Regions from separate parts of the Homo sapiens genome. Here region 2 is linked to region 1. Evidence: promoter capture Hi-C in human tissues and cell types (Jung and others, 2019). All regions are on one chromosome and are shown on one strand. The core of a region is centred on a gene start or on the middle of the fragment in contact, and the rest is flanking DNA. Distances in the headings are between cores, read along the strand shown.

What was found. The method cuts DNA at HindIII sites, captures the fragments that hold promoters and counts their contacts. A contact is called where the count stands out against the background at its distance.
Region 2: a fragment that was not itself captured here is called in contact with the fragment with the promoter of YLPM1 in region 1 in 1 of the 25 tissues and cell types used here (hippocampus).

Annotation. Positions count from the first base shown.
Region 1 is chr14:74,759,613-74,767,399 of GRCh38, forward strand. YLPM1 (YLP motif containing 1) reads left to right here and starts at 3,704. Exons shown (of 21, transcript NM_019589.3): 1 at 3,704-4,750. The coding sequence starts at 3,878. RefSeq lists an enhancer at 3,412-3,751. The HindIII fragment of the contact is 19,465 bases long and covers 1-7,787 here.
Region 2 is chr14:73,751,540-73,759,326 of GRCh38, forward strand. The region is part of intron 1 of MIDEAS (mitotic deacetylase associated SANT domain protein); the gene reads right to left. MIR4505 (microRNA 4505) reads left to right here and starts at 7,208; the gene lies at 7,208-7,280. RefSeq lists enhancers at 2,828-3,077, 3,378-3,447, 3,478-3,557, 4,961-5,040, 6,732-6,781 and silencers at 4,827-5,121, 7,432-7,541. The HindIII fragment of the contact is 7,118 bases long and covers 937-7,787 here.

The sequences.
Region 1 (7,787 bases), core at 2,454-4,953:
TGATCTGCCCGCCTCGGCCTCCCAAAGTGCTGGGATTACAGGCGTGAGCCACTGCACCCGGACCACACCTATGCATTTCTGTTGGTTATATGCCTTAGAGTAAGATTCCTGGGTCATGGTCTGTTCAGATTTGGTAGATACTACCAGACAGTATTTCAGAGTAGTCATCCCAATTTACATTCCCACCAGCAGTGTATGAGAATTTCATTTGTTTCACAGCCTTGCCAACCTTCAATATTACATCTCTTATTTTAGCCATGTTGATGAGTTGTACATATACTGGTATCTCATTTTGGCTTTAGTTCACATAACCCTGGTTTCTATTGAGGTTGAATTCCTTTCACATGTATTGATAATTTAACTTTTATTTTATGTGAAATACCTTCACATCTCATTTTTCTCCTGTAAGTTGTCATTTTCAAATTGATTTGTGGGATTTCTCTACATTGTCTAAATGAATCCTTTGCAGGTTAAATGCGTCACAAATATTTCCTTGTACTCTGTAGTTTCTCAGTTTCTTTATGAAAGGTATCTATGTATAGATTATATATGTACATGTTTATTTGTATATTGGCTTTATGCCCAGCAATCTTTTGATTCCCATAATTTACCTGTAGATTATTTTGGATTTTGAATGTACACAATATAAGTAAACAATGACAATTTTGTTTCTTCCTCTCCAATACTTATTTCCTTCCTTCCTTCCTTTCTTCCCTCCCTCCTTCCTCTCTCCCTTCCTCCCTCCCTCCTTCCCTTTTCCTTTCTTTTTATACCCATTGCATTAGTAGGGCCTGCATTACAATGCTGATAAGATATTGTATTAGTTTCCTAAGGCTGCTGTAACAAAGCACCACAAACTGGGTGCCTTAAAACAACAGAAATGTATTCTTCACAGTTCTAGGGACTAGAAGTCTGAAATCATGGTATTGGCAGGGTCATGCTCCCTTTGAAACCTGTAGGGGAATTCTTTCCAGCTTCTTCTTAGCTTCTGGCGGTTTGCGGCCAATCTTGGGTTTTCCTTGTCTTGTAGCAGCATAATCCCAGAATCCCAGTCTCTGCCTTCATCATCACATAGTGTTCTCCCTCTGCCTCTGTGTCTTCACATGACCATCTTATTTTAAGGACACCAGATACATTGGATTTGGGGCCCACTCTAACATGACCTGATCTTAACTAATTACATCTATAACTACCTGATTTCCAAATGAGGTCACATTCTGTAGTACTGGGTGTTAGAACTTCAACATATTCAACTCATAACAGATGTGATGATAGTGGACGTCTGTACTTGATCTTAGTGGCAAAACTTTCAACTTTTCACCATTATGTGTGATGTCAGCCGGGTATGGTGGCTCACACCTGTAATCCTAGCACTTTGGGAGGCCGAAGCGGGTGGATAACTTGAGCCCAGGAGTTCAAGACAAGCCTGGCCAACATGGTGAAACCCCATGTGTATATATATATATATATTTTTTTTTCTTTGTTTTTGAGACAGAGTCTTGCTCTGTTGACCAGGCTGCAGTGCAGTGGCATGATCTCAGCTCACTGCAACCTCCGCCCCCCGGGTTCAAGCAATTCTCCTGCCTCAGCCTCCTGAGTAGCTGGGATTACAGGCATGTGCCACCACACCCAGCTAATTTTTGTATTTTTAGTGGAGATGGGGTTTCATCATGTCGGTCAGGCTGCTCTTGAACTCCTGACCTCAAGTGATCCGCCTGCCTTGGCCTCCCAAGGCTGGGGTTACAGGTGTGAGCCACCATGCCCGGCCTAAATTTATACATTTTTCAAAAGAAAATGTCAGCCCAAAATATTAAAAACACAACTAACTAGGGTTTCTGGGTTGGGTTCCTGATCTGGGTGCCGATTTCACAAGTGTGATTGGCTTGTGAAAATTTACTATGCTGTCTACTTAAGACATGTGTTAAATAAAATTTATAGCAAGTTGGGCATTAGGCCCAACAGAACAAACCAAAATGGAGTTTATTGATGTTGCCATGCCAAAATTAAAATCTTTATCTGACCATTCAATAAACCAGGAGAGAGAGAAATAATAGCCAAGTCTGCAAACAGTCCATTTTTAGCCAGCATGATAAAGAAGTCCTCTCTGCTTTAACCTTATAAGAAAAGAAACTTTGAAACAAACAATCCACTTTTAGTTTTCTGTTTCTCTCTTTTTTTTCTTTTTTGAGATGGAGTCTCGCTCTGTCACCCAGGCTGGAGTGCAGTGGCACGATCTCAGCTCACTCCAACCTCTGCCTCCTGGGTTCAAGTGATTCTCCTGCCTCAGCCTCCTGAGTAGCTGAGATTACAGGTGAGCACCACCACGCCTGGATACTTTTTGTATTTTTAGTAGGCATGGGGTTTCACCATGTTGACCAGGCTGGTCTTGATCTCCTGACCTGGTGATCTGCCTGCCTCAGCCTCCCAAAAGTGTTGGGATTACAGGAGTGAGCCCCCGCGCCCTGCCTCTGCGTTTCTTTTCTGTCTATGAAATTATCCCGATTGTTCTGCTCATTGGAACACTGTTTCTGCTTTATAGAATGAGACGTTGCCCAATTCTAGAATAGCAGGTAAAAGTTAATTAAGATCTTTAAACTAAATTTGTTGTAATTTTGTCTTTTGACATGTAATTTTCTGTATATTCGTTATACTTCAATAAAAAGTTAAAAGAAACATAACTAAATTTCTATTTGAAAACAGAAGCTCTTCCTTTTGAAGGATGCCTTGCTGCTCCACTTTCCATTCACATTCACCTCCTGAGAGAGGTGAAGATCTGGGTTGCTAAGATGGAAGAAAGGTCAATTATTTGCATGTTACTCAAGTGATGCACTGACACAATATTCTCACAGTTCTCCCTCCCCCCGCCCCCCCCCACACACCCAAAAGAATTCAGTGTATTAGCTTTGCTTTTTAGTGATTCACTCAAGCTAAAGTAAGAGTTTATGTCTGGTATTACGTTGAGAGCTTTTGGAAGATTATCTTCCAGGTTGTCTTTAGACCATCTTTGTATCTGGTTTTTGCTCTCTTTGCTTTTGCTCTGAGATTCTGCAACACCGATTTATATGTGTTGAGACAGTCTAAAAAATTCCATTTCTCCCCTTCTACAATTCCTGCAGATGTTACTCACTATATGTCTGCAGGAATTGGTGTAATCTTACACTCTGCCTTGAAAACACCTTTCCATTCTTCACAGCTTTGTTCCCAGTTGAATTTCTGGGGAGAATTGAGTTAGGTCTATTCATTTAATTTGGGAGAAACTGACATCTTTACAATTTTTCCTCTTTTCACCCAGGATCATGGTAAGCCTCTCCATTATTTGAAGTCTAATTTCATCCTACTTGGATATGCTTCTTTATGACTCTGTAGCTTTCTACATATAAGTCCTACATCTTTCTTGTTAGAGTTTTTCCTAGTTGCTTTATGTTTTTTTGTTGTTGTTGCGATTGTTGCTATTGTGAATGGAACCTTTTTTTTTTTTCATTCAAAAATGAACCCGTGGAGCGATAGGATCTCTACCACCTCTTTCGGCTGTGAGACTCTATGGTTTTTCAGTTCTATGAGAACATTCTACTGGAGCCTACATTATCTGAACCCAAAGGAAGATGGCAACCACGAGTCGCCAAGTAAAGGACCGCTCTATCTCGCCTTTGTTCTCCTCTCGGTGGTTACTGCGCAGACGTAGTCGCCCAAGTCGCGTCCCCGCCTTCCCGGTCGCGGGCCCAGCTCGGGAGCGCCGGCGCACTGGCGCGCTCCGTTTACACGCTCCGGGGCCTGTAGGCGCCGCGAGTTCCGGCTGTCGCCGTCGCCGCCGCGGCTCCTGGAGGTCGGTTGCGACGAGTAACGGCGCCAGGACGAGCCCTGCGCCTTCTTTTTCGATATGTACCCGAATTGGGGCCGGTATGGCGGGAGCAGCCACTATCCGCCGCCACCGGTCCCACCGCCGCCGCCAGTGGCGCTTCCTGAGGCCTCGCCGGGGCCCGGGTACTCGAGCTCGACGACTCCCGCGGCCCCCTCCTCCTCGGGCTTCATGAGCTTCCGCGAACAGCACTTGGCGCAGCTCCAGCAGCTGCAGCAGATGCACCAGAAGCAAATGCAGTGCGTGCTTCAGCCCCACCACCTTCCTCCGCCCCCTCTGCCGCCCCCGCCAGTGATGCCGGGGGGCGGCTACGGAGACTGGCAGCCGCCACCGCCACCGATGCCCCCGCCACCCGGGCCGGCCCTCAGCTATCAGAAGCAGCAGCAGTACAAACACCAGATGCTCCACCACCAACGAGACGGGCCTCCTGGTTTGGTTCCAATGGAGCTGGAATCCCCCCCTGAATCTCCCCCTGTGCCGCCTGGGTCCTATATGCCCCCATCTCAGTCTTACATGCCCCCACCTCAGCCGCCACCCTCTTACTACCCCCCGACCTCATCTCAGCCCTACCTGCCTCCTGCTCAGCCGTCCCCTTCGCAGTCCCCACCTTCCCAATCCTACCTGGCGCCCACCCCTTCTTACTCATCCTCCTCCTCTTCCTCGCAATCCTATTTGAGCCATTCCCAGTCCTACTTGCCCTCTTCTCAGGCATCTCCTTCCCGCCCCTCCCAGGGCCATTCTAAATCCCAACTACTAGCTCCACCACCACCGTCCGCCCCCCCTGGAAATAAGACAACTGTCCAGCAAGAGCCTTTGGAGAGTGGGGCCAAAAACAAGAGTACTGAACAGCAGCAAGCCGCCCCTGAGCCAGATCCCTCTACGATGACTCCACAGGTAAGAAAGCATCTGCCTGAACCTCATCTTTCACCTAGAGGGCCCTGAATGAGCAGGCCTCAGGGCTTTAACCAGTGGTTAGTCTAATTCCAACACACAATGACTAGCTAACACTCCAAAGGATTCCGTAAGAGTCAGAGGGCTGACAGCTCAGCTTTTTAATTAGCTAGATGTGAATTACCAAAAAAACAGCGTTTGTAGATGTGTATGGATTACATACAGTGGTGGGGTGGCTCAAAAGTTACCTCTCAGATACATTCCTTGGTTTCTTTGACCATCCTCTTAGATTTTGTTGCTGTTGCAAATAGATTTTGTTGCAGAGGGTCTTGTTTTAAAATTGTATTTTAAACGAAAGTTTCCATTTGAGAGAAAGCATGAAAAAGAGGCCTCGCCAAGGGCTGACACTTGAATGTTTGTAAACTTTATGATTAGTTAGCTTCTTTTAAAAATATTACTTAGGGGCCAGGGATAGTTGTCAGCTTCCTGAATTAAGAGGTTTCAGAAAAAGGATGGAAATCTTGTCTTACCAGGAGCATCCTAATTATGCTTATAGGTACATATACAATACATAGATGAGTCCCGAGACCCTTTTGGGGATCGATTGGTCCATTTTAGGAATTGACCCAGACATCCTTTTCTCATATTATTTAAAGATTGTTTTAAGATAATGAGCAATTTTCTGCGTTTCATTGTCATTACCATTCACTCCAAAGAAACAGCCTTGCAATTTGGCCAACGTAAAAAAAGTTTGGTGATATCTTTTCATGAGAGAGTCAGCCATTCTTATCCCGCAGAACAGACAAATTGACAGGGTAACAGTAATAAACGAGTTCCCCCTTGAGAGAGGGAAGGTCAAACTAAAGCAGAATAAATCAATTGTTATGATTTCCTAAAGTAGACACTTTTTCAGCGATTACTAATTTACCTTAGATTCACTAAGGAAAAAAGAGAATCTTGTAATATAAACGCTCAGATTTACCTATAAAAGATTTCCAAAAGATAGGGATGCAGTATTATAATTTTACGGTGGTTTGGCATTAGAAATTAAGAACAGAAGCAAGTTGTTTTAAGAAATGATGCTTGGCACATCTTCTGGAGAAAACACTTGGGATGCTGAAATAAAGTAGTAGAATAATGATTCTGTTGGCTTACATCAAATTTGTACCATCTCACCAGTTTATTTTCCCCAGATTGCTCTATTATAGAGACAGACTTTCTGTCCTCTTTCCCACCCCACTCTGAAGTCTTTAGTGCTTTTGTTGTCAAACATTCTCAGTTAGTCTGAGCCAAAATAGGACATTTATATTCTCACTCTACTAGACTGTTTTTCTGACCTTACAGAGAGACAAAATAATTGTATTTTTGGCTTTTTTTGGGAGGAGTGTGTGTGTCAGATCAGGCCTTAATATGTATAGTTACCATGAACAGTGCTTTTACTTTTCTGCCTTTGTACCCTTTTCTGTAATGAACTCAGTGTCTTGAATATTCAGTGCCTGCAATTCTTTGGTGAGAGGCAGAGTGGTGGAAAATGAGACTTGTGGTGCACATAGACCAGATCAAGAAGAGCCTTGAAGCCTGTGGCTTTCTTTCTTCTTTTTAGAATTCATCCTAACCTCCTCAACCCTCTGTTTCCCCTTAGAGTTGTATTGCTTTCAAGGCATATCTCAAATATCAAGGTTTCCATGAAGCCCTGCTTGTGCTCACCCATCTGGTTTGGTTCTGTTCTTCAGATTGTAAGTCCCTTGCAGACAGGAATTATCTTACTTATCTTCTTATTACCGTAGCACCTAGGACAGTGCCTTGCAAATTGTAGGCTCTCCACAGATTTGTTGAATAAAATACGAGAGTTGTCATGTTCTAGACTTAGGATATGTTGGTTTATTAGATGATAAATATTTCTTCATGCCAGTACCAGTCTCTGGCAATCCTTCTACATATTTATTATTCTTTGATTCATATTTTGTTTTTGGAATGTGTCATTCAAAATTTCTTATCGTGAAATATTTTTAAAATACACAAAATAGAGAAAAAAGTATGATTCCCCATACATACCCATCATTGAGATTCAACAGCTATCAAGATTTTGCCATGTTTACTTCACCTAGGCCTTTTTTATTATTGTTGCATATATATATATTGAGACAGGGTCTTGCTCTGTCAGTCACCCAGGGTGGAGTGTAGTGGCATAGTCTCAGTTCACTGCAACCTCTGCCTCCCAGGCTCAAGCCATCCCAAGTAGCTGGGACTACAGGTGCATGCCACCATGCCTGGCTATTTTTTTTTTTTTTTTTTTTTGGTAGAGACGGGGTTTTGCTATGTTGCCCAGGCTGGTCTTGAACTCCTGAGCTCAAACAGTACACTGCCTTGACCTCTCAAAGTGCTGGGATTATGGGCATGAACCACCACACCTGGCCTCTGCTGAAATATTTTAAAGCAAATCTTAGATCTTATGTCATTTCATCCCTACATTCTTAGTCAAGTACCTCTATAAAACAAAACAAAACAAAACCAAGACCTTTTCTTTTTTTTTTTTTTTTTTGAGATGGAGTCTCACACTGTTGCCCAGGCTGGAGTGCAGTGGCGCGATCTTGGCTCATTGCAACCTCTGCCTCCCGGGTTCAAGCGATTCTCCTGCCTCAGCCTCCTGAGTAGCTGGGATTACAAGTGCATGCCACCACGCCTGGCTAATTTTTGTATTTTTAGTAGAGACGGGGTTTCACCATGTTGGTCAGGCTGGTCTTGAACTCCTGACCTCATGATCCAGCTGCCTTGGCCTCCCAAAGTGCTGGGATTACAGGCGTGAGCCACCGTGCCCGGCCAAGACCCTTTCTTAGATAAACACATTGTTAACACCTAACAAAGTTAACAGTTTCTTGGTATCATCTAATACCTGATCCGTTCAGATTTCCTTTATTGTTTCATCATACTAATGAACTAAAAATAATTCTTTGATACCATCCATGTTAAAATACCCCAAATTGACTCAACAGTGTTGTTGTTTTCTGTCCTCACAGTCTGTTCCCAAACAATGTTTTTT
Region 2 (7,787 bases), core at 3,246-5,745, 1.0 Mb before region 1:
AAGAGGAAGTCACACCCCTTCCACACCCTCCAACCCCACAACTGAGGTTAGCCAACAGCTCTTTAAAAATAAAGCCAGGCCGGATGCAGCGGCTCCCGTTTGTAATCCCAACACTTTGGGAGGCCAAAGCAGCTGGACCACCTGAGGTCAGGAGTTTATGAGACCAGCCTGACCAACATGGAGAAACTCTGTCTCTACTAAAAATACAAAATTATCCAGGCATCGTGGCGCACACCTGTAATCCCAGCTACTCGGGAGGCTGAGGCAGAAGAATCGCTTGAACCCAGGAGGCAGAGGTTGCAGTGAGCCAAGATCGTACCACTGCACTCCAGCCTGGGCGACAAGAGCAAAACTCTGTCTCAAAAAAATAAATAAAGTCTTGGCTCTCCCCTGCTTGTCAGATAACTCAAGTCCCCATGGAGTCTAGGCTCCTGTCCCTTCTCCTGGCACCCTGAGCTCTGGGTCAAATCAGGTCTCTGCTTGGGTTCCCCCACTCAGGACACTGAGCATTAGCCCCCAGCCACAGCCACCCATATCTCCACATGGTGCTCTCAGAGTGTTGCTTCTCCCAATAACTTAACTTCCTAAATAAAATATATTCATCGCACATCCCGAGTAGAGGAGACAGAGGTGCCCACTCACTCCAAAGATCATTTGTCCAAACCTCAATTTCATGGCTCATAGAACCAAGACCTCAAAGGTAAAATGACCTGCCTAAGGACACATGGCTGACTACCTGAGCAGAGCTATAGTGACGGCCTCCCAGGTAGATGTTCTCACACTTAGCACCCCTAGACCTGGCATTGCCAGGTCCTTGACATTCGTCTGGGGGAGGTAAAGCAGGGGGTGTAGCATGTGTGTCAAGCCTACCAAGTCTTCATCAACCCAGGCTCTCCTGACTGGTCAGGGCTGGAAAGGGCCAAGACCCACCTGGTGCTTGGGGGTTGGATGGGTCGGTGTCTGGCAGTGTAGTGTGAGAGTAAAGAACGGGGGCAATATGGCTCCCTAGTACATGCTAGCGACCAGGAAGCAAAAAAATTTGCCACCAGCAGAGGGAGGGGAGTCTCAGTGTGGCTGCCTGGGGCCTCCTAGAAGGGCTGCAAACTGGGCACAGACAGACGCCCATTTGACTCCAGAGCCATCACATCAGCCTCACGCCCTTCCTCAGGCCCTGGTCAAGATGCAAGACTTTTGCCAAAGGCTCACACATTCTTTGCATTTCTCCAGTCTCTGAGCAGCTGCTGCAGGGCCTTTTCTCCTATGTTGATTTATTCTTTATTGTTCCTGAAATACACCCAGAGGCCTTTGGCACAGCATGCGGGCACAGCAGAGCATCCAGCCCAAGCCCCAAGTACACACCAACCAGACTCTCTGGGACCTGGGCCAAGCCAGCTGGAATGATGGGCCCCAGGTCAGACCCAGCAGCCAAGAAGGGAGACCAAAGATTCCACCTAGCCCCAGCCTTTGATTCCCCAGAGCTGTTCTCAGTACCTCAGAGGCTGGGATACCTTTAAGGGGGAGGACACACTTGGGAGGTCCCCAGGAAGCCCACACTAAGCTGAAACCAAGCCTTTCCCCTCTTCCTGTGCATGTGCCTGGCCGAGCAGTCCCCAGGCCCACAGCTGAGTCCTCCACAGAAGGGCCTCAGGGCTCAAGGCTGGGCTCCTGGCTGCCCTGTGAAGCATCTGGAGAGGGAGGCAGCAGGGAGGTCTTCCCCACCCTTCCCAGCCCAAGATATCTCCCCTACCAGCCAGTCTAATGGTGCCTGAATTCCTACTATCAGCACTTCATACCAAGGATCAAAGCATTGTTCCTTGTGCACATGAAAATAGCCGGAGGAAGTGTGGGAGCTGCAGGGTAAAAGTAGTCAGGGGCAATGTGTGCTGGCTTCTCCAATCACCAGCCTCTGTGAGCCTGGGGTTCCCTATTGGTGAATGGGCACAACAGTTTCATCTCAGTTATTGTGGGATTCAATGAGGTAATACATAGATGAAGCGCCGCCTGGCACAGGGTACGCACTCAATAAATGTGTTTCCTGTCTCCCTTGCTGGGTAGGGGTGGCTCAGACATCGTTATCAGTCTTTAACACCTTGGAGGAAATGAATAGTCCAACTCTTCCAGTTCCACAGCTGGCTGAGAGCAAGGCTGGCCAGGCAAGGGCGGGACAGGGAGACTCAAAGTCCTAGCAACAGTGTGGGGCTCTGCAGGCACGCAGAGCTTCCGGCCTACAGACCCAGGAGAGAGAGGTCTGGCCAGAAAGTCCAGAGGGCACCCAGCACAGGCCTCCTTTAAACTCAGCTATGCCAGCAGGGCCTGCCTACAGGGATACAGGGGGATGAGGGTATTTCCCAGATAATACCGGCAGAGCTTCCAGGCCCAAAGGATGAGCCGCCACCTCCTGGATTCACTCTAAGAAGAGCAATAAAGGGGAAGGTGCGATGGCCAGAGGGAGGCTGAGGAAGGGCTGCAGGAAGTAGAAGGGACTCCAGTGTGGCAGAGACACAGGGCCTACAGAAAGCAAGCAAGCCTGCCCAGAGGCCACCACAGTAAATGTCCCACAAGTGGAAGTGCCCGCCTGGTTATTTTTGGCGCCTCTTCTGCCCAAAGCCAGTAAGGAAAGGCAGCTGCTAGCAACACAGAAGGGCTGTTTACACTCAAGTGTGCAAGCACTGCAACAGGGACAGAAAGCACAACTAGCAGCCACCATGCAGATGGGCCTCTGCCCCGTTTTTCCCCTCCCAACTGTCCCCCGTTGTGTGCTGCACAGCTGACACAGTGTGGGTACTTCTGCTTTCACTCAGATCCAGCCTCCCAACCACAGGACTCACTCACGCACATGCAAACAAATAAATAACTATGGAGCCAGCTGAGGACTGAGCCACACCCAGGAGCCAAGACAGTATTCCTTTGGATTCTTCCTGCGCTCAAGCTGCCCTCCCAGCTTCCAAACTGGGAGAAGCAGCCACCAGGCGCAGGACACAGGAGCAGTCCCTTTCCACCCTCCCAAAGTGAAAGTGGAGACAGTCTTTACAACCTCAAGCATCTCACCACCTCTCGGCTTCCCCATTTGAAAATGAAGGATTCGGACTAGATGTCCCAAATGGTTTCCCAGCTCTGGAATTAGGACTATGACCCAAGACCAGCTGGGGCCTCAGACAGAGGAAGGCCAGGAGGGGAGGAGGATCTGTGCCAGGAACTGCCAGCTCACATGCCGTCTCGGGGTTGCAAGTTATCACTTAAGCCCATTTCTGAGCTATGGGGGCCTTACCTACTAAAGAAATGGCAAGTTCTGGCAACGGTAAGTTGGATAGGGTCCTCTGTCTGCCCAACTACTGGGAAAAGCAGGGAATCAAAATCTCTCACCATTTTCCTTCTTGTCTGGATTCCAATTCCCCAGAGAAGCTGAGCGGCTTTAGAGAGAAGCCCCTTCTGGCCAGCTACAAGCCTACTGTAGCTCACTCTCTCCATCCAAGCTTTAACTGGGATAAACCTTGCCCTGTGCTTTCCCCACTCTCCTTCCTTCCCAGGACTCCTGAAGGAAGAAGCACTGCCTGGAAAAAATGCTCTCACCACGAAAGCTCCCTGCGGCTGGGAGAAAGGCAGAGGGAACAGGGAGCACCTTCCCTGGCTGGCCACAGCACGAGGCTGTGTTCCAGGAAGAGCAACAGCAAGGGCGGCTGCCAGGGAAGCCTCAGCCCCAAGCCCCGGCTCTTCCCCACCAGCTCTTCCCCACCAGCCGAGAATGACAGCCAGCAACTGCAGCCCTCAGGGAGACCCCCAGCCCCACCCCAGCACAACTCCGGCTCTCCTCTGACAGTGGCAACTTTCTTCTTATATAATTCTTGGTGTTTCCTTCACCGTTGCACATAATTTTAATGGGTAAAAGAGCCAAAGCAGTCTTTAAGGAAAAACTCCCACCCTTGGCTCTACCCAAACCTCCTGCGAGGTCACACTGCGAGGCTTCAGGTGAAGCAAACAGGGGACTTTTTTTCCTTGGCTGAGAAAGCAGCCTTCCTCCTGCCCACCCACGTGAGCAGCTCAGCCTGGGGCCTGGGCGGGTAGGTTCCTGAGAGCACAATCTGATCTCTGGGAAGCTGGGCCCTCAACCCTCGGCTGCAGGGCCACAGTCCCTCTCAAAGGCACACAGACACTGGGTCTGGGCCACATGTCTAGGGTGGAGTGGATCAAGCTGTTGTTCCCAGGGCACAATAAACTTCATTTATACAAGCTTCAGTGGCCTGGTAGATTGCTTTCCTACTATAAACAGGACACCCTTCATTTTCTCTTCCTTGATAGGAGTCAAAGGCAAACACACTGGATCCAGTGGGAACTGGTGAAATGAGAGTTGCCATCTGTTGAATACCTAGTATGTGTCATTCACTCTGCATGCATAATCCTGTCTAATCTTCACAGCCTATGAAGTACTAGTATCATCCACATTTTACAGGTGAGGCAACTGAGGCCCAAGAAGTTAAGCAATGCCCAAAGCCACACAGCAAGAGGAGATGCTGGGGTATGAACTCAGGTCTGCCCAGGCCTCATTCCCACGCACCCATCAGACTTCCTTCAGTCACTGCCCAAGTGACTGTCCACACACCATCCAGGAACGGCGTTCTGAGTGTGGAAGCAGAAGTCGGTGTGGATGAATTTTGCTGGAGGCCTCCAGAATCTGAACTGATGCTCCAACTATTATTGCTCCCAAGTGTGTGACTGCGAGAGCCCATGTCAGTGTGTGTGTGTGTGTGTGTGTGTGTGTGCGCGCGCGCGTGCGCGCTGAGGTGGAGGGAGGGTGATCTGGATTCCAAATTGCAGTTTCCAACATTAAAGTTATGCTGTAATGCTTCTGATTCATAAAATGAGCTCATAGTCTCACAGTATCCTGAATGTTGCTTCGAATGCAAATGCAGGTCCCTTAGTAAGAATTGGGGATTTCAGCCTACTCCACCCTAGCCCCGGCCCAGCATGCAATTTTTCAGTCCCAGAGTCAAGAGTTCTCATGTGCAGAAAGAAGCAATTCCTCCAACAGAATGCGGCCACTGGCTCTGCTTCCTGCCACCTGCAGTGAGTCAGGGAAGAATGGAGCCCCAGGCTGCTTCTGTACTGATGCATGCACGCCTGCACACACACAGGAAGGGTGCCAATCTGGGCTGACCAAAGGAAGTGCCCAGGCTAGCAGATCCCTAGGGAGATGGCTCCACAACTCTTTCACCCTGAGGTCCCCTTAGGGTCAGGATGACCGACACATGCACTCCACAAGGCCAGCTACAGGGCAGTGCCAGGAAACTGGGTTCACCAGCCCCAGAATCACCCACGGTGGACTGACATTTTTGAAACCAGTGATGCAATCTGAGGAGGTTCCAGGAGCAGGGACTCACTGGGCCCAACACATGACAAGTACACATTTTTTTTGATGGAGATCTTTCACTAATTTGTTCAACTAACATGCACTAAGACCAGGTGAGGTAGTTCAAGACTGTAATCCCAGCACTTTGGGAGGCCAAAGTGGGTGGATTTCTTGAGCCCAAGAGTTCAAGACCAGCCTGGGCAACATGGCAAAACCCCATATCTACAAAAATAGAAAAATTAGCCAGGTGTGGTGATGTGTACCCGTAGTCCCAGCTACTTGGGAGGCTGAGGTGGGAAGATTGCTTGAGCCCAGGAGGCTGAGATTGCAGCGACCTGAGATCGCACTACTGCACTCCAGCCTGGGCGACAGAGAAAGACCCTATCTCTAACAACCAAAAAAAAAAAAAAACACTAAACACTTACTAGATGCCAAGCAGCATTGTGGGACCCATTCAAGCAGAGGCTACCAAATACTGAAATGTGCTTTAAGCATTTTACGTATACTAACTCACAGAATCCTCACAGCAACTCTATGAAGGAGATACTGTATAGGAACTCTAACTCAGAGTCTTTGTTTTTGACCACCACACTGCAGTATGTACACAAATAACTACATAAGGTGGAAATGAGTGTTCAGAAGATGGCTACAGCCTTCAGAAGTGGCATTTGAAACAGGATTAGAAGGATAAGCTGGAAACCCCCAGCCACTTTGTGGCTGTCCCCACCCCAGCATGAGCAAAGTTTTCTTCTGGGAGACCCAAATGCAAGAGAGGGGCTCTCAACCTGAAGATTCCTGGACTGGGCCCATTCCCCTTCCCCTCTTCTGTCAGAGGTCTTGGCACCCCTGGGCAGCCTTTCTCTGGGGACTCTAGACACAGGAGGCCCTCAGCTGAATCCACAACTGCATGTTGTCTTTTCTTGTGTTCCACTTATTGAAAGCAGCAGCACACAGGGTCAAACACTGGGGCTATTTTAAAATCCCACATGTAAAAATTAAATTCTCATCCCCATGGGCACTCCAGGGCGCTCTTTCCTGGGGCGGGGTGAGGAGCTGACAGAGTCACGGGAGTGGGGGTTCTGCTGGCACTTGGAGAGGCCACACTGGCAGTGGCTAGGCTGTTCCAGAGCAAGCTGGCAAGCTGTATGACCTGGGGGCATCCTCCAGGTTCTTCACCCCCTTGTCCCCCCGGGAGCTACACGGACCAGAGTAACCAGCCAGAGGCCAATCCAATTAGAGTGGAGACTGGACCAGGGCCATGCAACGAGATGGTTTATCACAGTAATTGAATGTTTACGCTCCTATTATTCACTGTCCAGAGCAGTTGGAAAAGGAAGACCTACGAATTCTCAACCCGGGAAGGCTTCTCCTTTTCCCTGGGTTCTGAAGCCACTTAACACCCAAGGAAAGGGTGCATTTCTCTGATCCAAAAGGGGCGTGTGCCACACCTTTGGTGGGAGGCTCTAGAGCAAGACAGGTGGTTTCTCCCCTCAGCTGAGGCCCCCTAGGGAGGACTGGCTTCTCGGTCCACCTTCACTAGGCCTTCAGTCTCAACCCTGAAGCTACAGGAACAAGAAGATCCCAGATCACCTGGCCAGGCTCCCCCTGCTGGAGCAAGCCAGACATCCCCTCCCTCCCCCAGCCGCAGCTGCCAACAGGGATCCCCTGCATACGCGGGCCACCGGGGCCTCCGTGGCCAGCCTCTCTTCCCCCATCCCACCGCCCCCCGCGCGAGGCTCCACAGGCTGGCACACAGGTCCCACGTGGGATGGTGGAAACAGGAAGCAGCCACCGTAGTTGTGACCAACAAAGTTTTAAATGGGGCATATAACTTCCCCTTTCATCTTCTCACCAGCTCTCGCTGGAGGCTGGGCTGGGACGGACACCCGGCCTCCACTTTCTGTGGCAGGTACCTCCTCCATGTCGGCCCGCCTTGGGGCTGAAGCCTGAAGGCCCCAGGGCACACGAAGTTCCCCTTCCTCCCCTAGACCTTTACCCAGAGGCCTTGGGGGCAACCTGACACACATGGTCCTGCATGTGCGACTTGGGAGGCGACGTGACCAGCTCCACCAAGCCGGCCATATGCAGGGCCCGGCCGAATCCCGGGTTTCGGCGCTGCCGCCAGGCACCAGGGAACACAGCTCCCCGCGAGGCACCGCGCGGGCTGGGAGGGCTGCGGCGGCGCGGGCGTGCGGGGGCGCGCGGGAGGATGACAGGTCTGAGGTGCGCCCGCCCGCGCGAAGCGCTCCAGCCTAGGCCTCTGCTGACTGCATTTGCCCCAGTTCCCCAACGCCCCTGCACCTCTGTCCCCCAAACTCCTGGCGTGGACGCCGCGTCCAGGCCCACTTTCCCGTGCACGCTGGCAGGGGAAGGGGCTCCCGCGCCAAGTTCCCTCAGCTGGCTAGCCCCTCGCCGCGCCTTCCGGGCCTGGGCTCCGTCACGT